2 separate regions of the Homo sapiens genome follow, and region 2 is linked to region 1. Evidence: promoter capture Hi-C in 16 types of primary human blood cells and fetal thymus (Javierre and others, 2016). All regions are on one chromosome and are shown on one strand. The core of a region is centred on a gene start or on the middle of the fragment in contact, and the rest is flanking DNA. Distances in the headings are between cores, read along the strand shown. Region 1 holds the start of CCN4 (cellular communication network factor 4). Region 2 overlaps TG (thyroglobulin).

Region 1 (7,345 bases), core at 1,954-4,453:
AACACACCCCACCCCACACACACACAGTGCAGCTATGCACATCCCACATGCACTGATACAGGAGGGAGGATGTGGGTTTTACCTGTAGACCTATACATAGACCACCACAGGCCTAATGCTTGCCCAGGATTTTATCACTCAGCTTTCGTTTGCTGAATTACACACTTCTGAGAGGTTTTCCTCAGGCACATTTTCACGTTCAGCAGCAGGGAGCTTGGTGTGGTGAGACAGTTAGTCCCAATTAACAAACGAGGAAAGTGAGGTCTGAGGTGCAACGGGACTTAGTGCGGCCGACACAGCCAGTGGCAGAGCCTGATTCCAGCCCCTCTACTCTGGCTGACGTTACCCCTGTCACCTGCCCCACTAGCCAGTAAACTCTGTCGGGCAGGGACTACATGCCCCTGGTTTCTGCCCTTGGACCAGGGAGGCAGGAGGCTACATTACCAAGAGCTGGACCAAGGTTCAAATGTCAGCTTCCCTGATTACCAGCTGTGTGACCTTTGACAAATTACTTAACCTCTCCGAGTCTCAGTTTTCATATCTGTTAAGGAGGATAATTGCACTTGCTAAATAATATTGTTATGGGAATTGTAGAATGTGCCTAATAAATGTTTGTTGGGTGAACTGAGGTTGGTCTTATACATGTGTTGGCTCAGTGCTTGCTAATGCACATTAAATGGAGTCCCTTTCTCTTAGCACATGGCGGACATGCTCAACAAATGCAGAAGAAAAGAATAAAGAGATGAAAGCATAAGTCATATTTGCAATACACCTTTAGCACAGATTAAATTCCCAAATACACTCGGCTGTTCCTGAGATCACTCCAGTGCCTTCCTCCTTGGCTGATCTCCTTCTGGGCTGCCATCTTCCTCCTTCCACTGCAGAATCTTTACAGAGTGCTTTCATATCTCCCAGAGAAGTCCCCCTTGTAACTCTACTTCCTCAAAGTTTTCTTGGCAATTCTCACATGCATTTTCTTCAATATGAACATTTACAACAATTTTTTCCATTAAGATCTCACTGAGACCCTGGTTGGACATGTGCTCCCTTTGCATATTAATTCGGGAGGATGACCATGTATGGAATTTGGCTATGAAACAAGGCTGGTTTCCAAATGGAGTCCAGCTCGTTTCTATCAGTCTCACAGCCCACACAGGGGGCGGGGCTTTCAGGACATCCTGAGAACTCCAGTGCCGTGCACACCTCTGTCCCAGAAGCATCTAAATCATGAAACAAGCATGGGGTGGGTGGTCTGGGTTCCCCAGGCAGGGGCTGCCTAGAAGAGAGGTACCTTGTGCTGGTCCCGGGAGCCTTCCCTCCAACCTGCTCCCTGGGTCCCTCCACACGCTCTGCTCCTTTGCTGGTCTCCTCTGGCTGAGTCCTCGGCTCTGTCCTTCACTCCTCCTCAGCACCGGCTGTTCTGGGAGCTGACTGGGGCTCCAGAGTACTTGGACTCATGCTTAAACCTCTCGCCTCCTCTGCCCACTCAGACTTTGGCTTCTCTCAAACGCTCACCTTTTCTCCATCCTCTCCCTGCCCTCCCAGACATAGCAACCTGCAAAGCTATACCCAAATAAAGGCGCAGCCATACCCAGAGCCGAAATAAACAGCGACTTAGCTCCTTCTGGGCACTCCTGTAGGACACAGTCAGCTTCCCCTAAGTAGGAATGGTTAGAAATTGGCATCAGAAGATCTAAGTTTGGGCCCTGGCCACTTATTAATGAGGAGCTCCTGGGCAAGTCCTTTACTTGCTCTCACTTTCCATTTCTTTCATTTGTGAAATGGAGCTGATAACTTTCTGGTAAGGTGGTTCTGAACCAACTATAGTCAGGCACCATGCCAGGCGTGAGGATTTAACCAAGATGAAACAGACCCACTCCCCGCCATCATTACACACACCGAGGCATTGAGAGGAATTCCTATTTCCCAGGTCTCAGTTTGCTGTCGGCTCTCGGCCTCAGTTCTGGCTGAAGCAGACCTAGAGTCTGATTCTGGCAAGTGGTTTAACCCCAACACACGGTTTCCTTATCTGTGAAGGGGGCTTCTTAACCCCCAAGGAAGCCATCAGTGTCATTTGGGGATAAACACTCTTTTGCCATCACCCCTCCGTCTCTAGGCTGTTCTGCCAGGAGCAGGTCCTGCCCTGGGCTGTGGAATCTGGGGCTCAGAAGCTGCCAGGTACCCACCTCCTGCCCTCCTTGCACTGCCTGCCTCTGCCTTTTCCTCACCATGCCTGGCCCTAGCAGGCTGGCTCTACACGGTCACATATGTGACTCCCCTGGCTTTTGGAGGTGCAGACCTTTGTCCCTTCCCCTTGGTGTACCCTGGGGTGCAGGTGGAAGAGAGAGAGACTCTGGGGTGCCCACATCACCCCCACCCTGGAACAGCAGGCTTCATAGGCAGGACCCAAGTATGGACACTCTGCAGACTGCAGAGGGCTGTGCAGACCGGAGGTGACAGCAGTTGGGGTTAGACATCACCCTGAGCACTGTTTGCTCAATAAGGAGCTTTTGTTGAAAGCTGGCATTTTTCTTTCCAATTTTTTTTGGCTTTTTCCATCTCCCATCTTCGCAGCATCTCCAATGCTTGGAGTCTTGGAGTTTTCAAACTCAGAGACTCTAGAAGTCACCTAACAACTTCGTCGCTTTACGCTGCTCCTGGAGGGTGAGTGACCCACCCGAGGCCACACAGCCAGGTTAGGCGAAGACGGGTCTGGAGCCCGGGCCCCTGACTCCCAGTTCTGCTGAGGGCCCCGTTCTTTCTGCACTGTTTCAGGTGGGGAGAGAGGGCAGGCTGGACCTGTGCAGTTTGTTTCCCCAAGTGTCGCACCGTCCTCCTCACCCTGCCAGCTTCAGCCAACCTGGGCAGCTGACTCCTCACCCTGGGCTCTGTCCTTGCCCTGTAAGTGGCCACCTTCCAGCCCCAAACCTTCCTGGCCCTTTTCATCCTGCCCACCAGCCCCCATGTAGCAGGACCCAGTAGAGAAGGGAGCTGGGTCTCCCTCTGAGCCCCTCCAGGCAGGACTCACCGTGGCCAGGACGGTGCTGGCGGCTGCTGCTGTCACTGCTGCCAGCGTCCAGGGCAGGAACCACCTCATGCCTGGACGTCAGTGGCACAGGCATCGACCGAGCAGCCCAGAGGATCCGACCACCTCTCGGGGGAGCTGGGCCCAGACTGGCCGGCCCATCAGGAGCACCAGATATGCCTCTTCCGCAGCCCTTGGGGGGTTTTATTAAAGCAAGATCTGACGTCAGGGTGAAGGACAAACCCTGCATTTTCCTCTGAAAAAACTTTTCCTGCCTCTCTCTCTTTTTTTTTTTTCTTTCTTCCCTCTGTCCCCACCTCCAGCCTGAGCTTGGCCAGCCTCCCCAGCTCTGACAGTTCTTAAAGGGAAAGTTACAAGGCTATGACTTCACACTAGGGTGTGAAATTCTCACAGAGGAGCTGGGGTCATCCTGCCTAGGTCTTTCACTACTGTAGGGAGGGGGGAGCATGGGAGGGTGCAGGATGTCCGAGGAGATACTGTTACCCCAGGCAGGCGGGTGTGTGGGCTTTGAGAGGGCTCCCAGTGGGAAATCAACTCCCTGTCATTTCTTCAGGCTGCTCCTACTTCTGGTTTTCTTTTTCCTTTTCTTTTTCTTTTTCTTTTCTTTTCTTTTTTTTTTTTTTTTTTTTTTTTTTTGAGACAGAGTCTCGCTCTGTCGGCCAGGCTGGAGTGCAGTGGCGCGATCTCTGCTCACTGCAACCTCTGTCTCCCAGGCTCAAGCAATTCTCCTGCCTCAGCCTCCTGAATAGCTGAGATTACAGGCATGTGCCACCACACCCAGCTGATTTTTGTATTTTTAGTAGAGACGAGGTTTCACCATGTTGGCCAGGCTGGTCTCAAACTCCTGACCTCAGGTAATCCGCCCACATCAGCCTCCCAAAGTGCTGGGATTACAGGCGTGAGGCATTGCGCCCAACCCTACTTCTGGTTTTCATTTGCCCTCTTGCACTCCCCTCTACCTAGCTGCAAGCGAAAGAGGTGGCTTTCAGTCCACCCATCTAGAGATGATAGGAATTCACAAATAAAATGAGCTCTGAGGCTCAGGTTACAGCATCACCTTCATGACACGTGAAAGCCACGGTAACGCATTTGCTGTTTGCCGTCTCTGCTCATTGGTCAGAAGCCGTTTGGTGCTGGAGCTGTCCCCACGTGTCTCTGGATGCTTGCTATCCCTGGGGGGTTGGGTTTCCTGGCCTGTACCCTTATTGCACTGCTGCCACTGAGTCTCTTCCTTGGGCAAGAAAGGAGATGGGATGTCTTCTATGGGCTGTCCTAGTCCAGCCCTGTGCTCCCCATGGGGACCGCTGCCACAGCCTCCTGACTGATACCCAGCCTCCCTGCCCACCTTCTACCATCCACACATCTCAGAGCAATCCTTGAACTAGCGTCATGTATAGATCATCTTCTGGATACAACTGTCCAAAGCCTGCCCATCACACAGCACAGAGTCCCCAGTCCTGGCGTGGCCCCTGGGCCAGCCAGCTCCCTGTACACTTCTTCCTCTCTCCCTTTCGTGCACCATGCCCAACCACAATGGCCTCCTTGCAACTCCTCTCACACCTTGGCAAGTTCTCAGCATCTCCAGGTCTCAGTAGGAATACTCGACACTGAGGTTTAAATGACAGTTACTCCTTCTCTTCTCTTTTCCTGTAGCTTATTAACAAGGGATGCTGAAGCATGTGTGGCTGCTTGGAGGTAGCAGCAGGCTTGTGTTCATGGAAGAGGTTTATGATCCCTATAGACATGACCCCAGAAGAGATGGTGCTCATGATTTCTCCATTTACTGACCTGGGGATGTGCCTCTGATCCAATTCCGGCCAATGAGACATAAGGGAAACCTGCTAGGGTCTTCTAGAAAAGATTCCCTTCCTCAGGAAGAGAATGACCATCTACTCATTCTTTTCTTTCCTTGTGTGCAAATGTGATGGTTGGAGCTGCAGCAGCCATTTTGGGTATATGAGGCTGAGAATAAAAAGTCAACAAATTGAGGATGGCAGAGTGGAAGCAAAAAAAAGGTCTGAGTCGTTGGGACTTCATGTTGTTGTTGGAGCCACCATTCAGACTTCTCATTACATGAAATAATTTAATATTTTATTGTTTAAACTGTAGTTAGTCTGAATTTTCTTTTGTTGGAGTCAAGTTGTATACTAATTGATACATGAGGATTACTAAAATCATATATGTAAAATTAAAGGGCAGGGTATGTGGGGGGCATGTAAGGACTGCCCAATAAATGTCAGTCATTTTCTTCTCATTAATTTATTGATGCTTAAAAACAAATCCCAGGCTGGGCACGGTGGCTCACACCTGTAATCCCAGCACTCTGGGAGGCCGAGGCGGGCAGATCACAAGGTCAGGAGATCGAGACCACCCTGGCTAACACAGTGAAACCCCGTCTCTACTAAAAATATAAAAAATTAGCCAGGCATGGTGGCGGGCACCTGTAGTCCCAGGTACTCGGGAGGCTGAGGCAGGAGAATGGCGTGAACCCTGGAGGCAGAGGTTGCAGTGAGCCGAGATCGCGCCACTGCACTGCAACCTGGGTGACAGAGCAAGACTGTCTCAAAAAACAAAACAAAACAAGCAAACAAACAAAGCAAAAAATAAATCCTAGGAGGCCAGCATTGTTGACAGGTGTCATTAATAAATAACCCAAGGTGTTAGGGGCCAATCTAGGCTCACTTGGCTTTTGATGAACACTAAGTATGAACGGGCTCTGTGCTGTAGAGCATCTCATGACTACAAGGCAGACAGTGTTATGAAATAGGTGGAACACATCTCAGAGATGCTAGATGGTTTCAGAGCACACGTATGAGTAGTAGATCTGAGGCTGAAACTAAAGTCTCTTAACCTCAGACAAGGCACAGAGTCAGGACCAGACATTTCCAAGCCAGCTTGACCTGCCAAAGCCTCTCAATGTTAAGTGTAACAAGAGCCTGCAGAGCTGGAAGCCATTGAACTCCACCATCATTTTTAGGAAATCCAATTGTCTCGAGCAATTGAAGCAGGCACCCCAAAACATGATCAAAGTGCTGACCATTCCACCTGTGGGTGAAACCTCACATGACCCGGTGAGCCTCATGGGCACCTGCCATTCTTCAATGTCAGTGAAACTGAAAACAAACGGCCCAGTGACCTGGCCAGGATGGTAGATTTGGAGGCAGAATGCCAAGGTGTCCCCCAGCTCTTCCATTTACTGGGGGCCTCGGACAATCAACAACCTCTCTGTGCCTCAGTTTTGCTTGTTTAAAGAAATGATGTTAGTGTCTACCAGATAGGGTCCTCAGGAGGCCAAAAGGGGATAATTGGTATGTCCCCACTTTCCTGATTAGAGGAGCCAGTATGGGCCGCAGCCTAGGCTGCTACGATTGGGTTGTTGTGTGTCCATCCCCACAAGAGCCGGGCAAACACTAAGTGTCTGGCCAGTGGACCAGAACAATAGTTGCTGTGTTCCAGGTGACACCATCTCACCAAATCCTCATCTCAATTCATTCTCACAACCAGTCTCCCATTAGACATTATTATCCCCATTCGACAGATGAGGAAATGGAGGCATGGAGAGATAAGTAACATTTCCCTGCCATTCGGCTAGTACATGGCAAAATTGTGATCTGAACACAGATCTGTGCAGCTTCAAACAATTTTTTTCCCCAAGTAGAGCCAGCTTCCTCATGTGTTGAACAAATAAATGAATAAGTAAGGAATGAATGAATTCAGTAGATGATGGACGGATGGGCAGAGGGATGGAGGCACTCAAGTATGGGGAGATCATACCACTGTTTGGAATGTCCCATTTCCCAGGACTTCCAGGGACAGTCTTCCGCAAGGATGTCCCCCTGTCCTAATCACTTCGTCTAAATAGGCCCTCCGGGCTGGTCTGTAGCTCAGTCACCCACTTTCTTCCTTCATGGTTCTAGCCCTGTGTGCCATTGTTTGTTTATTGAGTATTGATCATTTCCCACATAGATTTTGAGGTCCAAGGGTGAGACCAGGCCCACATCTTCTTATCTATACTGTGTCCACAGCATCAGCACAGAGCCTGGCATGCAGAGGGTACTTGAGACATATTTTTTAGTGAATGACCAAATGAACCAATGAAGAAGTAGATGAGTGAGGTGGTGAAGGGATGTATGGGTTGAAGAATGAAGGGAGGAAGGAGGAAATACTTGGAGGAGAAGACAAATGTGTCCACACATGCTCCTCAAGAGCCAAACTCTGCTCCCTCAAGGTGCTGAGAGGAAGATGAAGCCCATTTCAGGTCTCCAGGAACCACTTATGGAGGGAGCATCAAGGCGTAAA
Region 2 (7,345 bases), core at 3,375-5,874, 270 kb after region 1:
AACAGAGAGACTACTTTCCTGTATATTGAATGGATGGAGGGAGGGAGGGAGGGAGAATATGAGGAAAGGAGGGATAGGCAAATGAATGACTAACAACATCATCACAACACCAGGAAACCAGGAGATAACATTATGATGGCACAATTCCAACGTGTACACACATATGCACACACAACGTGCACACACATATTGGAACAGAGGTATGTAAATACCTCTGTTCAGGCACTTGATGTGGTATATGAAATCTTCAGCATAGGTTGACAAAGATCAGAATTAGGAAAATGAACCTAAAGTTAAAGGGAAGATGAACTGGAAATATTTCCAGTGAGCAAGGTGGAAATATTTTTTACTAACTCTGCAAGTAAACAAAGGAAACAGAAGATCAAAGGGAGTGCCAGGAAGCTGCAGCAGGAGAGATTTCAGAGAGAGAGGCAGCAGGCAGTCAGGGAGAGGCACCAACTCAGGAGTGAGCCCTCAGCTCGAGTCCTGATGCCACCACCAGCTCTGTGTCCTTGGACACCTTGCAACCTCTGAGAGTTTCAGTTTTCTGGTTGTGAGGACTAAATAATATAGCATGGAATGGTATATGGTATATGGTAACCACTCAGTAAGTGCTAAGTCCCTCTGTCCCCTGCAGAACACCTTTCCTAAGTCTCAGGGCTTGTAAAATTGACCACAGGAATTGAGGTGGTGGAAGAATCTCCTTCCCTGAAGACCTTTAGGAAATAGTTTCAAAGAATCCCAGACAACTAGAGAAATTTATTCATTCTGTCAAAGAGTACCTATGGCCCTGGAATAGAATAAGAAATAAGATACAATTCTAGCCCCAAAGGAACATATGGTCTAATGAGGTTAGAGCCCAGAGGGGAGGCTGGGATACTGCAAATGGTGCTTTATCCCAAGAGCAATGAAGAACCACTGAAGAGATTTAAGGGGCATTGCATAGGCAGAATCTCCTTTTAAATAACAGCTCTAGAAGCATCATAGAAAAACTGTTGGACTGAAGCAAGAAGATGAGTTAGGCAGGTATGGCAGTACCATGTAGGTAACAGCAGAAGCCTGAACAAAGGAAGTGGCAAGAGGGCTGAGGAAGGAGCAAATTCCTCTCAGGTAGGTACCTGTCTGGGGAGGTATAAGTCCCTTGCTTAAGGACCTAGCCTGAAGGACAAAAGCCTTAAACATTTTACTCCCGAAGAGAAAGTTCCTCTCAAAGGCAATTCTGAGAAGAGATGTGTTGACATCCCAGTGAGGGCCCAGCTTAGTGGCATAGAAATCCCCAGGCATATCCAGAAAGGGAAACTTAAGCTCAGAGCTTTGCATAAGAAGCCAAAGATGCTGAAGCTCTATCTGGAGGCTATTCAGAAGCCAGCGCCTCAGGGAGGCATCATCAAAGTTGTCAAAGCTCAGCTGTGACTCGTGAGCACTTCTGGTGCCACTGTTTAAACTGTTCTTTCTGCCCTGAACACTGGGCAGAATACACCATGAAATGCCCTACAAACTGCATAAGACAATCCTCAAGGCCAACCCATTGACAGAGATGCAAAGAGAGCTCAGAGCACGTAAGACAATAATCCCAGGACTGATGGTGATCACCAGGGCCGCAGGGCAAGTTGTATTCTGTAAAGACACAGTCTCCTTCATTTGTGAAGCATCTGGCTAACTGATCTCTCAAAGCACTTTCCTGCTGTACTTCCCCTGTTTTTTTCTGCCCAAGAAGAGGGATGTTGGGAAAAAAATAAGACTTTCATTGGATTTGCAATTTATTCAAGAACACACACACACACACACACACACACACACACACACGCACTCCTTAGGACTTGTTAGCACTTCACTAGAGAAGGGAAATGATTGCTCTGAGAATTAGAAAATGAAAATTTCTCACTTGGATTTTCACTAATGTTTTATCCCATGAGCTGTACCAGCTTCCCTGGAGGACAGGTAGGCTATGCATGCATATGTGTGTGTATGTGAGGATATGTTTATTGAGGAAGCAGGTAAATCTAGGTGGAAACAGATTGGTAGAATGAAGAATACAAAGGTTTGGTGGTTTGACATACACCAATTCAAATTCTAGGTATATTCTATCCTAACTATGGAACCAAGAGAAGTGCTTGGACATTCTTTGCCTCAGTTTCCTCAGCTAAAATATTGGCAATAATATCTACCTTTTAGGACTACCATGGATTCAAATTTGATAAACACATAAAACACCTGGCACACAGTAAGCCCATGTATGTTAGGCCCTCTCCTTCCACAGAAATACTAAGAGACTGGCTTGCTTGGGCTTGTCAAATGTGCAAAGGTTAGCCACAAGACCTCAAGCAGAGGCAGGTGGCTCCAGGGAAAGGTGGAACAGAGTCATAAAGATTGAGAAGATATCAGGATTAAGGGACCTTGCAGACTGTTTCAGCCTCCCTCCAAGTTTAACAGATGGGGAAACAGGGCAAATACTGTTTCTGAGCCTTCTTATTCTGAGACATTTACTACCGCTGGTAGGTAATGCCATTGCTAAGGCACTCAACACTCTTACAACGGGGGAAACTGATGTCTCCATTTTACAGACGAAGAAACTGCTGAGGGTGAGTGACTTGCTTAAGACTACACAGCCAGTAAAGGCACCACTGGGATTAAACTACTTCTGATCCCACAGGACATACTCTTCTCTTCTGTTCCTCTGGTTCCCATCACACTATATATTGTAGCATATCTGATGGTTTACCTGGGACTTTCCCATCCAGTATCTCACTGAGGAACTGTACGTGGTACAGGGTAGAGCTCAATACGTATTTGTTGACTTTATAGGTTCATGTTGATTCTCAGGAAATAGACTGAAAGCCACTGGGGAGACTGAGGATCAGAGGGATTGAGCAACTTGCTCTAGATCACCCAGCAATTAAGATATGGAACAAGGCCTGGCACACAAGTCTTCTACAACAGAAGTCCCCAACCCCTGGGCCATAGACTGGTACCAGTCCATGGCCTGTTAGGAACTGGGCCACGCAGCAGGAGGTGAGCATTGGGAGAGTGAGCATTACTGCCTGAGCTCCGCCTCCTGTCAGATCAGTGGCAGCATTAGATTCTCACAGGAGAGCAAACCCTATAGTGAACTGTGCATGTGAGGGATCTAGGTTGCATGCTCCTTTGAGAATCTAATGCCTGATGATCTGCCACTGTCTCCCATCACCCCCAAATGGGACCATCTAGTTGCAGGGAAAAAAGCTCAGGGCTCCCACTGATTCTACGTTATGGTGAGTTGTATAATTATTTCATTATATATTACAATGCAATAATAATAGAAATAAAATGCACAATAGATGCAATGTGTTTGAATCATCCTGAAACCATCCCCACCCTGCCACCTCTGGTCTGTGGAAAAATTGTCTCCCATGAAACTGATCCTTGATGCCAAAAAGGTTGGGGACTGCTGCTCTACAACGTCCTACTGAGGAAGAAATGCTGACTAGATTAGTGAAGTCAAGCTGCCTAGAAGAATGGAGGCCTCCACAGATCTTTTAATATAAAAATTCATCTCTTGTGCATGCTGAAGTACTTAGAAGTAAGGGTTCCTGATATCTGGAATTTACATACCAAATGATTCCAAAAAAGAGAGAGTGAAATGTTAACAATTTTTGGATCTAGGTGATGGGTATTTGTTCATTTTGCGGTTCTTCCAACTTCTACACAGATTAAAATTTTTCAAAACAAAAAGTTGGAGACAAATGCACCTCCAGCTTCTCTCCCTTTCTAAAAAGCCCTTGAGACTACTCCCCAGTCCCCAGGAACCATGACTGATTTCACCCCCAGCACCTACTCAAACACTGTGAGTCCTCAAGAGGGGCCTCTGTTTCCCACCATGGCAGCCTCCGCCCCTCGCCGTCCACACAGAAGGCCTTCCCACTGCCCCTGTCCTTCTGGCTGGCTCGATACTGGCCATTCTGGTCACATTGCAGGCCTGCTTCGTTCCTCTGACAGTCAGTGACACCTAGAACCAATAGATTGACATAGCCGTCAATAATGGGCCTCTGGAATCCCCTGACTCCTACTCCCAGGCTCTCGGTCATTGACAAGGTGTCCAAGTCACACATCTAACTCAGACATTCCAGCTTAAAACTCTTCAGTGTTCCCACTGTTCTGATCAATAAGGCCCCTGTGATTTGGCCGCCACCCACCCTAAGTTCTGCACACATACCCCATGCTTCACACACCACCTGCTTCATTCCATGCCCTGAATACACCAATCTCTCTGATACCATTTGCTCCAACACAAGCTTTACTCATCTGGGCCCTCTTCTGGCCCACAGCTCCCCCAGTCTTTGCTGCGCGAACTCTCCACCACTCACCTGTTTTCATCCCAATTCTCATTGTCTCAGGAAAGCCTTCCTACTATGGTCTAAATCTATGGGTGCCACCTGCCAAAATTCACATGTGGAAACCCAGTGCCCAGTGTGACGGTATTAGCAGGTGGTGCCTTTGGGAGGTGACTAGATCATGAGAGTGGAACACTCATGAATGAGATTTGTACCCTTTAAAAGAGGCCCAAGGGGGCTCATTTGTTCCTCCCAGCATGTGAGGGCACAGTGAGAAGGCGCCATCTGTGATACCTTTATCAGACACCAAATCTGCTGACAACTTGATCTTGGACTTCCCAGTCTCCAGAACTGTGAGAAATAAATTTCTGCTGTTTATAAGCCACCCAGTTTATGGTATTTTCTTATAGCAGCCCAAATGGACTAAGACATCTCTGGACGTCCCAGCCCAGTCAGGCCCAAATGTTACACACTATCCCAGGGACCCACACCTCTCCTTCACAGCAGGGCACACTGTTACAATTCCCATTTTCCTGTGTGAATGAACGATTGATGACTGCCTGCCTCCCACTCGATAGACGTTCCAGAAAGGCACAGACCAGGTATGGTTTTGCTCATTATTGTATCCAAATGCCTTGCTCAGTGTCTGACCCACAAAACAAGCTTCTGTCCAAAATCAATAAATGCTAGTCAAATCCATGGATGAATACCTCTATATCCATGTTCAAGCTGTTTCTTCTTCCTAGAAGGCCTTTCTCCACCGGGCCCCCTAGCTAATGTCCCCTTGTCCTTCAAGACCTCTCACAAGCTGCTATAACAGTATCTAATATGTACCTCCATTATACTATTCATTACATCACATGGATATGCTCACACGTTTCTTTTCTCTGTCAGACTCTAAACTCCTTGAGGACAGGGACTTTATCATTACTTGTTTTATTTAATATATACCCACTATACAGTTGGCAGAAAGCAGGTACTCAATAAATTTTGGATGAATGATATTAAAAGGGAATGCCTTCATTTGGTTCTCCAGGTCTGGGAAGTAGGTGAAAGATAATATTTTATGGCAGCCCAGAGATTTCATAACATCTGAGTTTCTATATTTCCAGACTATTGGTTATGTGATTCACCATTGATTAATAAGAACTTTTTTGTGGGAGGTTACAAAGGCTATTTTTAAATAGAATACTTTGCATGTCCTGCATGCTATACATGAGTTAATACATCAATAAACAAACAAGTAAATGAAGAGCTACTTCTGCTGAAGAGTTATCAGCAGAACCTCAAACATGGTCCAGTGAACCAGCTAAGTTATAAAATGTAGGAGAAAAGTATAAGCAAGATCAATAATAGAGACCTGAACTATATAGAGGAGTTGGGATTCTAAAAGCTAACCTAACACCAAAAGGAAATCAAAGAAATATTGTAATCTGGCATTATTTAAAACTTGGCAGACTCTTCTGCCCTGTGCTTCTCTTCAGTACAATTCCATCTAAGAACACAGGCCTGGTAATTCAATGCGGGTTAATGAGTCATAGAGAAGTTTCTTAGGTATGAACAGATCCTTAGCACAGACTCCAACCTTGATCCTAGAGAACCATTCACTAAAATCTCTTTCACTGCTCAGGGAAGATGTTTGGGAGAATGGCAATGATTCAATACAGCTCTCTACTACTGCATGAAAATGCAATCAATGCTCACCCCCAAAATGGGTGGGGAATAAATGCTTATTGTTTATGCTAAACATTTTGATTCCACTTTGCTACAGACTGATTGTTTGTGTCCCTCCCTTACCAAACTTATATATGGAAGCTCTAATCCCCAGTGTGATGGTATTTGGAGGTGAGGCCTTTAGAAAGTAACTAGGTTTAACTGAGGCCATGAGGGTGCAGCCCCCACGATGTTGTTAATGCCCTTATTAGAAAGAGAAGGACAGGAGATTTTTCTCTCTTTTTCTCTGTGTAGGTACTAAGCAAAGACCATGTGAGGACATAAACAGAAAGAGAGCCTTCAACAAGAACCCAATCATGTGGGCACACTGACCTCAGACTTCCAGCCTGTAGAACTGTGTGAAACAAATGTGTTGCTTAGGCAACCCAGTGTATGGTAATTTGCAATAGCAGCCTGACCTAAGACACCCTTTATTACCACCCTGTGAGTGAGTTATCATTGGCTCCACCCAATACAGGAGGGAGCTGACATTCAGAAGAGGAAGGTAGCTTTGTCTAGGTCACAGTGCCAGTAAGAAGGGAGAGTGGTGATCAAACCTGGTCTGGCTGGTGCAAGCCTCAACCTGTGTCCTCTATTCCTGCCATTTCTGTCATATCCCCTCCATAAACAAGGCTCAGCACACTACATTAATCTTCTTTTAAGAAAGTGCTTCTCTGGTATTTTGATAGCACTTCAAGTCATCTCAAACTACAAGTACTCAAGTCATTGTGTACAAACTGAGGGTGATGCCCAGATGTCAAGGACACTCTATTTTCCCAGTGAAGAGTTTATTCTCCAGGAAGAATGCCAGACTCTCAGCCTATAAAATTCCTTTTACTTTTATTTTATTGGAATTACTGTTCTATTATTACTGCTTTCCTGACCAGGAAACTGCCCTGAGCAAAGAAAGTATCTTGATCTTTTCTGATGACTTGTTTTAAAAATTCTAGAAATTATTTGGATTGTAAGCACAACAGTTTCCTTCACATTGACACAGTTTCAGACTAACAAGAAGAGATGCACAACAAGGCAAGTTATGGGTCCTTGCTAGGAAAAAAACCCAACAATACCCAGGGGACTATTAAGTAAGTAGGTCGAGTGAAATCACGTGACATATGGGAAGGCCACCCATACATACAGTCCTGGCAAATTCATGCAGCAGAGAAGGAAGATGAGCTACATAGCAGTAATGACTATAGGTGGAAAATATCTTCCATTTTTCAATCTGATAAGGTTGACTTACAAAAATCAGAAGTTTCAGAATCAGATAAAACCAAGATCAAAGACCAGTTACATCATCCATTAGCTGAGTGACTTTGACT

Evidence for each region. The method cuts DNA at HindIII sites, captures the fragments that hold promoters and counts their contacts. A CHiCAGO score of 5 or more calls a contact.
Region 2: a contact is called between a fragment that was not itself captured here and the fragment with the promoter of CCN4 in region 1, in 11 of 17 cell types (activated CD4 T cells, non-activated CD4 T cells, total B cells and 8 more). The highest score is 8.5, in activated CD4 T cells.

Annotation. Positions count from the first base shown.
Region 1 is chr8:133,186,897-133,194,241 of GRCh38, reverse strand. It overlaps CCN4 (cellular communication network factor 4), which reads right to left and starts at 3,203. Exons shown (of 5, transcript NM_003882.4): 1 at 3,029-3,203. The coding sequence starts at 3,097. RefSeq lists a silencer at 2,084-2,331. The HindIII fragment of the contact is 13,274 bases long and covers 1-7,345 here.
Region 2 is chr8:132,919,978-132,927,322 of GRCh38, reverse strand. It overlaps TG (thyroglobulin), which reads right to left. Exons shown (of 48, transcript NM_003235.5): 22 at 3,815-3,985. Among named protein-coding and RNA genes, the nearest start is that of TG, 57 kb to the right of the region's middle. The HindIII fragment of the contact is 702 bases long and covers 4,274-4,975 here.